Linked DNA regions of Homo sapiens: regions 1, 3 and 4 are each linked to region 2. Evidence: promoter capture Hi-C in human tissues and cell types (Jung and others, 2019). All regions are on one chromosome and are shown on one strand. The core of a region is centred on a gene start or on the middle of the fragment in contact, and the rest is flanking DNA. Distances in the headings are between cores, read along the strand shown. Region 1 overlaps RNF10 (ring finger protein 10). Region 2 holds the start of CABP1 (calcium binding protein 1). Region 3 overlaps SPPL3 (signal peptide peptidase like 3). Region 4 holds the start of ACADS (acyl-CoA dehydrogenase short chain).

Evidence for each region. Contacts are between HindIII fragments. The study calls those that stand out against the background at their distance.
Region 1: a contact is called between a fragment that was not itself captured here and the fragment with the promoter of CABP1 in region 2, in 4 of the 25 tissues and cell types used here (aorta, heart left ventricle, neural progenitor cells and 1 more).
Region 3: a contact is called between a fragment that was not itself captured here and the fragment with the promoter of CABP1 in region 2, in 2 of the 25 tissues and cell types used here (bladder and stomach).
Region 4: a contact is called between the fragment with the promoter of ACADS here and the fragment with the promoter of CABP1 in region 2, in 4 of the 25 tissues and cell types used here (IMR-90 fibroblasts, adrenal gland, heart left ventricle and 1 more).

What each region holds. Positions count from the first base shown.
Region 1 is chr12:120,560,575-120,563,274 of GRCh38, forward strand. It overlaps RNF10 (ring finger protein 10), which reads left to right. Exons shown (of 17, transcript NM_014868.5): 7 at 152-312; 8 at 2,371-2,496. Among named protein-coding and RNA genes, the nearest start is that of POP5, 19 kb to the right of the region's middle. The HindIII fragment of the contact is 5,481 bases long and covers 1-2,700 here.
Region 2 is chr12:120,639,184-120,641,883 of GRCh38, forward strand. It overlaps CABP1 (calcium binding protein 1), which reads left to right and starts at 1,443. Exons shown (of 6, transcript NM_001033677.2): 1 at 1,443-2,156. The coding sequence starts at 1,503. It overlaps CABP1-DT (CABP1 divergent transcript), which reads right to left and starts at 1,339. Exons shown (of 2, transcript NR_183426.1): 1 at 867-1,339. RefSeq lists silencers at 1,303-1,602, 1,823-1,922, 1,933-2,102, 2,323-2,422. The HindIII fragment of the contact is 37,846 bases long and covers 1-2,700 here.
Region 3 is chr12:120,763,441-120,766,140 of GRCh38, forward strand. SPPL3 (signal peptide peptidase like 3) reads right to left here. Exons shown (of 11, transcript NM_139015.5): 11 at 1-1,630. The coding sequence ends at 1,559. Among named protein-coding and RNA genes, the nearest start is that of ACADS, 39 kb to the left of the region's middle. The HindIII fragment of the contact is 7,096 bases long and covers 1-2,700 here.
Region 4 is chr12:120,724,427-120,727,126 of GRCh38, forward strand. It overlaps ACADS (acyl-CoA dehydrogenase short chain), which reads left to right and starts at 1,400. Exons shown (of 10, transcript NM_000017.4): 1 at 1,400-1,505; 2 at 2,600-2,700. The coding sequence starts at 1,460. RefSeq lists an enhancer at 1,072-1,573 and a silencer at 1,210-1,719. The HindIII fragment of the contact is 31,377 bases long and covers 1-2,700 here.

The DNA.
Region 1 (2,700 bases), core at 4-2,503, 79 kb before region 2:
TAAGACCATTGTTAAATTATTTTCTAGGAAATCATGCTAAATTACCCCATTTTCACCCCAGAGAAAAGGCTGTATTTGAAAATTCCTATTTAGCTACACCATCGTGAGCTTTGAATGTTGCATTTCTTTGATCTTGCTGGCATTCTTATAGATGAACAGCACAGCCAGTACTCCAAGTTGCTGCTGGCCTCTAAGGAGCAGGTGCTGCACCGGGTAGTTCTGGAGGAGAAAGTAGCACTAGAGCAGCAGCTGGCAGAGGAGAAGCACACTCCCGAGTCCTGCTTTATTGAGGCAGCTATCCAGGAGCTCAAGGTGAGAGGATGCATTGGAGATGCTAAACCTTTTCACTTTCTCGGCGTTCTGTGGTGAAAACCAGAAATGCTAAACCTTTTCACTCTGTCGGGGGTGAGATGATGGACGCTGGGGATTAAGTTAGTTCCATTCCACATTTAAGACAATAAGCAGAGAATGGCTAAAAAAGCCAATTTGTTTTGGGCTTTGTTTGATGACAGTAGAGAAGGTTTAACCTAGGGCTTTTAAAGCTCTTTCTAGAGCTGAAAGGAGCAAGTCAAAATGATTTTATAACTAATTGTGACAGTGGAGTTTTTTAGATTAGCTATGTTCTTAAAGCAAGTTAGAGTTCTTTGTTTTCTGGGAAAATACTTAAGATTCTATTCTAGAGGTGTTTTGAAAGACATTGTGGAGAAAGTATTATGGCCTGCCCAGTATGCCTTAGGAGTACCTGAAACGGCAAGAATTACACAAGAACAGAATTCCCTGGGTCTTTTATCTTCCACAACAGAGATTCTTGAAGCATCACAACCACTGGTTGTTAGGTCCCACTTTGAGATATTGATTGCATAGGTTAAGCTCAGTAGGCTCAGTAATTTGCATATAACAAGTTCTAGGGTGATTCTGATGGCTGCTCATCCCCAGACCACACTCCTGGAACCACTGATCTAGCTTAGAGCAATAGAAGCCCATATTTATTGAGTGATCAGCATTTGATAGGACTTGTGCTATACACATTTATCTCACTTAAGCTTCTAGTGTGGTAGATAGAACTATCCCCTTTCATGGATGAGGAAACTGAATCCTGGGTTGGGTAATTTGCTAGTAAGGGATGCAGCTGGTATTTGAATTCCCTTCTCCCTGACTCCCAAGGGCTCCTTGGGTAGAGTCCTGTGTATTTAACTTTTGCTTTCTTTCTATAATACGTTGCAGCCGTATTTGTTCAAATGCCATTACAGGCATAAGAAAGGCTACATAGAATTAGAGCTGTCCAGGCTGAGGTGGAGTTAGCTAAATCCTTCCTACTACTCTGGACCTCTGTCTGAGCATAGTTTGTAAAAACTAGGTTAGTTTCATGTTCTTAGATTTCTGTTCTGGAAGTTTTTTGTATAGTGTTGTTTGTGTCAGATTCTCTTTTATTTTTTTTAACTTTTAAGTTCAGGGGTACAAATGCAGGTTGTTACATGGTAAACCTGTGTCATGGGGGTTTGTTATACAGATTTTCACCCAGGTATTAAGCTTAGTACCCATTGGTTATTTTTCCTGATCCCCTCCCTCCTCCCACTCTCCACCCTCTGATAGGCCTCAGTGTGTGTTCCCCTCTATGTGTCCATGTTTCATCATTTAGCTCCCACTTAGAAGTGAGAACATGTGTGCGATATTTGGTTTTTCTTTTTCTTTCTTTCTTTTTTTTTTTTTTTTTTTTGAGACAGAGTTTTGCTCTCGTTGCCCAGGCTGGAGTGCAGTGGCGTGATCTCGGCTCATCACAACCTCTGCCTCCAAGGTTCAAGTGATTCTCCTGCCTCAGCCTCCTGAGTAGCAGGAATTACAGGCATGCCCCACCATGCCTGGGTTATTTTGTATTTTTAGTAGAGATGGGGTTTCTCCATGTTGGTCAGGGTGGTCTTGAACTTCCAACCTCAGGTGATCCGCCCACCTCAGTCTCCCAAAGTGCTGGGATTACAGGCATGAGCCACCACACCTGGCCGTATGTGTCTTTACAGTAGAATGATTTATATTCCTTTGGCTATATACCCAGTAATGGGATTGCTGGGTGAAATTTTATTTCTGTCTTTAGGTCTTTGAGGAATCACCACACTGTCTTCCACAATGATTGAACTAATTTACACTCCCCAGTGTCAGATTCTAAGCAGATTCCAATCCTTAGTGGGTATTGCATGCTTTTTGCTTCCTGTTTCCCTCAAAGTTGAGATATTTAAGCACCTAATTCCTTCCCATTGGGTCTCATTGCCTTTTAACTTTTGGTCCTGTTGAGAGGCCATTCTAAGCCCTTGCCCTTCAAGCTAAGTGTGTGTCTGGAAACTTAACCTTCTCTGGTGTTCTCTCTGGCCACGTTAGACTCGGGAAGAGGCTCTGTCGGGATTGGCCGGAAGCAGAAGGGAGGTCACTGGTGTTGTGGCTGCTCTGGAACAACTGGTGCTGATGGCTCCCTTGGCGAAGGAGTCTGTTTTTCAACCCAGGAAGGTTAGTGTGTTCCTGTTACTAAGTGGCTGCCGTTCCTCAAATGCTGTCATTGAGCTGGTAGGCATTACTGTGAGATCTAAACCTTCTCAAGAGAAGAGGGGACAATGAGTATTTTCTGTATGCTTGTTATTAGTTCTTTCCCCAGGGGTGTTAAATCAGTGAACACGACAGCTAAGATAAACATCTAGGGAGCTTGGCTCTTAG
Region 2 (2,700 bases), core at 193-2,692:
GTGCAGAGAAGGATGAACTCTTGGCATGAGTGAAGTGTAATATCGGCAATCTGTTTGTGTACCCTTCTTTTTTTTTTTTTTTTTTTTTTTTTTTGAGACAGGGTCTCACTCTGTTGCCCAGGCTGGAGTGTAGTGACCCAATCTCGGCTCACTGCAACTTTCACTTCCCGGGTTCAAGTTATTCTCATGCCTACAAGTGGCTGGGATTACAGGCGCCCACCACCACGCCTGGCTAATTTTTGTATTTTTAGTAGAGACAGGGTTTCACCATGTTGGCCAGGCTGGTCTCGAACTCCTGACCTCAAGTGATCCGCCGGTCTTGGCCTCCCAAAGTGCTGGGATTACAGGTGCGAGCCACTGTGCCCGGCCTCGTGTATCCTTTTAATGAGGCCGAGCGGTGACAAGACTGTGGATGGCATTGGGGCCAGGGACCAGAACAGGGAGAGCCTGGGAGGAACCCCTCCAGCCCCCCGCAAAGCTCAAGCACCGGATACTAAAGAAGAATGGTAGATGGGGCCTCACGATGTGCAGGGGGAAGGGAACTGGCTTAACTGGATGGTCCCCTGTCCGAGCACTGGGCTAGGCCTTTTGTGTGCATAGTATCGTCTGCTGTTACCAAGAAATTAGTTATGCTTATCATCTGCATTTTACAGAAGAGGAGAACAAGGCTCAGAGAGGTTGATGACACCTGCCCAAGTTACCCAGATGGTAGGTGGCAGAGCTGGGATTTGAGATTCAGATAAGGCCTGGGACGCTCCCTGGCTGCCCACCGAGAGCAGGAATTTCTGTAGCATCTAGAAAGGCAGGAAGGTGAAAGAGGGGACAAGAGCTGGAGGGGGAGCAAATGGGTCCTACCTGAGACTTACCATCATCAGGTGCTGCCAGACCTGGCTTCTCTTCTATTCTGAGAACTGATATCCTGTGGCTGACTTACCAGGGTCGTCCTAGTCCCCCCGCACGGTATTGGGAGTGGAGGCAGCCCCACACGGAGGCGCTGGGAGACTTTCCTCCCAGCAGTGTCCTGTCACTGCATTCCGGCCCCTGCGTTTGTAGGCAGTGATGTCACAGAGTGCCTTCATGCTCCTCGGGTCTCCGGTTCTCCCCGGACCTCTGTAGTCCTCATTGCCAAAGTTGTACCCCCTGGGGAGTGCACCCTGCCTGCATTTCTGGAGGTTCGGGCGGTTCCGGGGCTCTGCAGGAGCCTCCAGGCGTGATAAAGAGCGCTGCCGGCACTCCCGGGGTCTCGGCCTCTTTGGGGCCCATTGCCAAGCCCCTTCCCTCCTCGTGCTCCCGCTCCGCGTTGCAGCGTCCCCTTCGCCGCCAGGGGCCGCCCGGAAGCGGGGCTCCCCCAGGGCGGGGCGGGGCAAGGGGCGGGGCGCGGCGGTACCTGGGCCGCCAGGGAGCCGGGGGTGGGCTCTCCGGGGACAGCCGGCAGCGCCCCCAGATCTGCACCGCCAGCCGCCGGGAGCTCCGGGCTCCGGGCGTAGAGGCTGCGCTGTCACATGGGCGGCGGCGACGGGGCCGCATTTAAGCGGCCGGGGGACGGCGCCCGCCTCCAGCGCGTCCTCGGGCTTGGCTCCCGCCGGGAGCCCCGTTCTCTGCCCGCCGGGGGCCCCGCGCCGCGCCGCACCGCGCCGCCCCCGCCGGGCCATGCGAGCGCGGGCCCCGCCGCGATGAGCTCGCACATCGCCAAAAGCGAGTCCAAGACGTCGCTGCTGAAGGCGGCGGCGGCGGCGGCGAGCGGGGGCAGCCGGGCTCCCCGCCACGGCCCTGCCCGGGACCCGGGGCTGCCTAGCCGCCGGCTACCCGGCTCCTGCCCGGCGACGCCGCAGTCGTCCGGGGACCCCAGTTCGCGGAGGCCCCTGTGCCGGCCGGCGCCGCGAGAGGAGGGCGCGCGGGGGAGCCAGCGTGTGCTCCCCCAGGCGCACTGCAGGCCCCGGGAGGCGCTGCCGGCCGCGGCGTCCCGACCTTCGCCGTCGTCGCCGCTGCCGCCGGCCCGCGGGCGGGATGGGGAGGAACGGGGACTGTCCCCGGCGCTCGGCCTCCGGGGCTCTCTGCGAGCCCGGGGCCGCGGGGACTCCGTTCCAGCCGCCGCGTCCGAGGCGGACCCGTTCCTCCACCGGCTGCGCCCCATGCTCAGCTCCGCCTTTGGCCAGGTAAGGGCCGCGCCTCCCGTCAGCGCTCCCGGGAAAGGCGCTCGGGACCCTGCCGGCCGCGGTTGCGCGTCCACAGCCTCCTCCCGCGGCCCGTGGTCCCCCACGGATCACGCCTCGGCTCACCTCGTCCTCCCCGGGCCGGCGCCCTTGCCGGCACTCCTCCTCCCCGTGCCTGATTCAGCACCCCGTGCGCTGTCCACGCTCCGGGCCTCTTGGGGCAAGGCCCTCCCCGCTAGCCTCCCTCATACCCGCCAGAACCCGCCAGTCCTGGAAGAGAGCGACCTCTACGACCGTCCTGGAGATTTGCGGGGGTCAAGGAGGGGCGCTCCGAGCAGGTGGCGCCAAACCCACTCCTCTGGCCTCTGGCCAGTACCGCCAGGGAGGGACTCAGGAGAGCAAGCGGTTTGGAGTCTGGGGGTCAAGAGAGGGGACCTCAGAGAACACAGAATTACTTGAGGGCGAGGGACACTGGCCACTGCCTATCATGTCCCTGAAGGCCTGAGAAAAGTTAGGAGATCCAAAAATATGAGGAAAGAGAAGAGGT
Region 3 (2,700 bases), core at 145-2,644, 120 kb after region 2:
GGCGGGGACCCTTGGGGAGAGGCTGGAACTCAGGGCCCTTCTCCAGCCTTTGTTGTCAGGCATCCTCATGCCAACCGCAGGCTTCTCTTTGCCTCTGAACAATGGGCACCTTCTTACCAGGCAGGGGCTGCTTAGGTAAAGGTCAGCAGACCTAACACTAGTTACTCCCAGAAATCTGGGCTTGCAGCAGAGACCACAGCACAGGGCCAGGCTCTCAGGACACAGCAGCTGGTTCTTTCCCCAGTTACTGGAATTTAGGGCCCATCTCAGAGGGGCATTTGACATGTGTCCCCAACACCCGGTTGTCACCACAGGTAAACCAAGACTATAATCACAACAGCAAGGACAGGATTGTGTTGCTTTTTTCCTTTTTTTTTTTCTTAAAGGAGTGAGGGCATGGAAAATATACAGCACACCAATGAAACAAAATGTCAAAAAAAAAAATACAAAAAAATAGAAAATAGAAAAATGTATTTACAAGTAGTACGTTACTATGATGAGAAAGCACAAAGACACCTGCTGCTATAATACATGCATTGGCTCGAGAAGAAACTACGGAACACCCTGCGAGGGAGAAGCCTAGAAAAGAAAGAAAGGGCCAAAAGGTTTGAACTCTTCATCCCTAATTTGCTACACTGATCAAAACCAAGTAAGGGCTCCTGAAGTCCATGAGTCTATCATCAATCAGCACAAATGCTATACTAGTTTGTAACTGCGGGGTCAGTTGTGAAGGGGAAGGACAGCAGCTTATCCATATACAAGGAAGCCACAGTAAACTGCTCGACATGCTCAAAACGACAGCAAGCCCCTGTCAGCTACACAGCGTGATCTTAGCAGGATTTCATTTTTGTTTATTCATATATATCTATGTGTGTGTTTATATATATATATGTACGTATGTATAAAAACCGTGCCCTTGTTCACTGCCAACACAACATCTGGGTGGACATGAACTCATTACAACAAATTCTTATGTGGATGTTGTAAGAAGTCACTCAATGTCTGTGGATTTAATAAGTCACTTCACACCACAGAAAATATTTAATAAATCCAAAAAAAGGAAAGAAGAATATAACGACAGAAGAGCTTCTGTCTCAGTTCTCTGAAACTGAGTCCCCTATAGGAAACTGGTCCCAAAGTTCTCGAGGGGTCATTGAAGAAACTTCGGTTTGCTAATTTTTTTCATCCTTTTAGTGTTCAAAAGTTCTAGAAAGACTCCTCGCTGTTTTCAGTTTTTAAACAGTCAAATCTCCATCTCCCCCAGAAGGTAACAGTCTGGTGCAGATCCATAAAAACGTGGGAGGAAGGCGCGCTGGGGAGAGGCCTGTCCCTCTTGGAAGGGGCCCCACCTCTACATCCGCAGGAAGAGAAGGAACCAAACAGGGCTCCAGCACCTCTCTCCTGCAAACGAGCTCCCTTTAAATGCCAAATCCAGTCACACGGCAGTTCCTTAAACACAGGTACATTTCTGAGTACCAGGCCAGCTCTAAGAGGAAACAAACCATGAGTTGAGAGAAAAGGACTATGACGGCCATCTGGTCACTTTCCACGTGATCCATCATACTTCCAGGAATCGGGAGCTGCTGGACTTGGAGTGGAAAGGCTCAGACCACATCCGCCGGAGGTCGCCCTGGGAAACAAGGGACTTTCTAAGTTACAGATTTAAACATGAGGCACACACAGCTGTCTGATTCTTTAAAAAAAAAAAATTTTTTTTCCAGGTATGAAGTCTTCCTATATATTGGCCAGGCTGGTCTCAAACTCCTGGGCTCGGGCAATTCTCCTGCCTCGACCTTCCAAAGTGCTAGGATTACAGGCATGAGCTGCTGCGCTTGGCCCCTTTCTGATATTTTTTTTTTTTGAGATGGGTTCTCACTCTGTCACCTAGGCTGGAGTGAGTGCAGTGGCGAGATCTCAGCTCACTGCAACCTCCGACTCCTGGGTTCAAGCGATTCTCTTGCCTCAGCTTCCTGAGTAGCTGGGATTACAGGCACTCACCACCATGCCCAGTTCATTTTTGTGTTTTTAGTAGAGACAGGGTTTCACCATATTGGCCAGGCTGGTCCTGAACTCTTAACCCGCCTGCCTCAGCCTCCCAAGGTGCGGGGGTTACAGGCGTGAGCCACCATGCCCCTGGCCCCTTTCTGATGCTTGATCTGAGATCAGATTGCTTCTGTGGGAAACCAAAGAGCATTTAAATCTTACCCATTCAAAAATAACCCACTATTTTTAGGAGGACTCCCTAGAAGGGGTGCTTTTAGGCTCCCTGAGCAAGAAAAGGGCTTTTATCAACTCTCTAGAGGTAGTGAGTCAAGTGAGCTGGGCAAGTAAGTTGACCTCTGTATCTGCTTCCTCATCTGTAAAACGGGGCTGAGAATAGATATCTGGGAAATAATGTGCTCTTGAACTCTGGTTTTATCATATGCTGCCTCAACACTATTCAATCTTAATTATTCCCAAACTTTAACGTAGTGTTAAGCTGTTAGGTGGCAGGAGGGCACTGCTTTGAACAGAAGCAGGAAGTACCCTCAGCTGGGCTCTGGGGCTTTCAATTAGTTATTCCTCGACCAGGTGGTGTAGTGGTCTAGCTCATCAGCATTTTCTGTCAGTGGCTGCACGAATCTGGAAGCGTTTGCTAACGCCAGGGTAGCGCGCGCGCGCACACACACACACACACACACACACACACACACACACACA
Region 4 (2,700 bases), core at 150-2,649, 85 kb after region 2:
TTTTAAAATGAAATTTGAACGTTCATATTTACAGTCACAAATTCTCAAGAGTCTGGTTTAGATGCTCTGTGGCACCTGAAGCAATTATTGGCCTTTGCTCACAAACACAACTCACTTATTTCTCCCTTTTCTCCTGCTTCTTCATCGTTTCTTCCACCCAGGGCTGGTTCCCAGGTGGGATGACGGAAAGGTGAGGAAGCCCTTAGAGCATTTGCCAATGGGAGCCATTCATTTGACTTTAAAGTACTGAGAATTTAGAGGCGTTCTTTTAAATGCATTATTTAAAAAGAAAGGTAACACATTAAGGACTTTGCTGCATCTTTTGATTGGCTTTCTTCTAGGAAGTAGTGACCGAGGTTTCCACTTTCCTCCAAGAGGAAGAGACAGAAGTTTTGGCAAATAGGTCAATGCTGGGAACAGATGCCTGCCTGGCTGAGTGCTGGGAAAGAAAGGCAGTTGGAGGGATGTGTGGGTGCCTGGGAGGGCGTGGGTGGTGCCCAGGAGGCTATGGGAATCAGAATCACACTTGCACAAGAGAAGACCCTTATGGGACAAGTAAAATCAGCATAGTTTCTTGGGCGGGGCAAAGGTGTCCTGATGAGGATGCTAGGGGTCAAATATGTGTCTGGGTTCTGCCCCAATCGGGAATGAGACACAGTACTGAAGTGGAACGGGGGTAGCATCTCCACCCACCTTCACAGCCTCTGGGGAAAAGAAAGCTTTCCTTGCAGCCCAACTCCAGGGGCCTAAATATTGAGCACCAACACAAGACAGGTCCTTGAGCTTCTCGGAGCGAGTCGGGGAAGCAGATAATTTCAGATGCAAAGTGCCTTGAATAAACAGAACGAAAGATAGAGAGCCAGAGGGGGAGAAACGGCTTGGTGTGGTCAGGGCAGGCATCCATGAGACCTAAACGAAGAGGGGGCATTCCAGACAAAAGGAACAGTGATCACAGAGGCCCCGAGTCAGGAACCAGCTAAGGGTCTTAGAGAAGAGCTGCCTCGTAAAGCTAAGCAACAATAACCAGGGAACGGTGGGCATGGGCCCTGATAGACAAGGCAGGTCTTGGCTTTTTAAGCCATAGAATTGGATTTTAGGAGGGATGGGCCCGCCGACAAAGCCAACAAAGTTTTAACCCGAAGATCGCTATCTTATTTATGCTTTAAAAAGACCTCTCTGGCCTTTCTGCGAAGCTCTATCCTTAGCTTTCTCTTGTTAGCATTTTGATTAACGAATGTGGGCACGAACAGCCAGCTGACCGACCGCGCGCGCAGTCGAGCGTCGGTTCCTCGCCTTGGGAGGGACCACTGGAGGCCCCGCCCCCTGGCCGCGAGCGCACCTCGGCCCCGCTCCCGAGGCCCTACGGGCGTGGCCTCTGTCCCGGGTCCCGCCCCCCAGCACTCCGGAACAGCGCGCTCGCAGCGGGAGGTCGCGAAGCCTGGGACTGTGTCTGTCGCCCATGGCCGCCGCGCTGCTCGCCCGGGCCTCGGGCCCTGCCCGCAGAGGTGAGTGCGCTGGGGATCCGTACGGCGGGGCTTCAGCCCGCGTCTGGCCCAGCGGGCGGAGGTCCTGGCGGCCGGCTCTGTCAGAGCCGCTGGCAGGCGGAGCCCCACTCCGGGAGCGCTCACGGCCTTTGCCCCAGTTCTGCTGCTCCTTGCGCCGACCCAGCCCGGCCCTTCAGGCGTCCCTGGTTCCTGCACAGACCCCTACCCCCCGATTGACCCCAGCCACCAGCCCAGTTCCCAGTTCCCATATCTCCCTCCCTTCATTTCACCCCCACTAGAGGTTCAGGGTGCGTCCTTCTTCCGGAGCCAGGCCTGGGATTGAACCAGACCCGCATCTGTGACCTTGGGCAAGACAGCCCCTCCTCAGCCTCGGTTGGCCCATGTGTAAAATGTCCACAGAGAAAATCAGAGTTGTTGGGAGGATTAAATCATAGGGTATGTAAAGCACTTCGTGCCTGGCGTGTAACAGGTGTTCCACAAATGCTCGTTCTTGCTGGTTAATACAGTACCTTTCCCATCTTACGTGTCTCCAGTTGTAGCAGCCGTGACACATATAGCCACGGCTTCCTTTGCCTGGCCTGAATTACAAGGGGAACGCTACTGAGAACTGTGTTAAGCGCTAGTTAGTCTTTCTTTCGCACTCCGAGGAGCGGAATACTATTCGCCTCCACTTGTTATAGAAACGGAGGCTCACTGACGTTTAAAACCCTTGCCTAAGGTCACAGAGCTGAGGTCTTATTACTGTTGGTATTATACTGAGGACTGAAGGATGTAGTGTATGGAAATGTCTAGTGAGTGTACTAAGCATTCAGTTAGTATGGGGTTTTCAGTGGCCGCCATGGACATTTTGGGCTGACAGTTCTTTGTTGTGGGGGCTGTCCTCTGCCTTGTTGGATGTTCAGCAGGGATCCCGGACCCCTATCCACTGGGTACCAATAGTATTCCCCTGCTCTAGTTGTGACAACTAGAACTGGCTCCAGACATTGCCAGATGTCCCTTGGAGGGCAAAATCCTCCCTGGTGAGTTAGTGGGTCACTAGGATTCTTGGAGACCTCCTGCCTCCTCCTTCCACTCACTTCTGCCCTTGCCGGCAGCTCTCTGTCCTAGGGCCTGGCGGCAGTTACACACCATCTACCAGTCTGTGGAACTGCCCGAGACACACCAGATGTTGCTCCAGACATGCCGGGACTTTGCC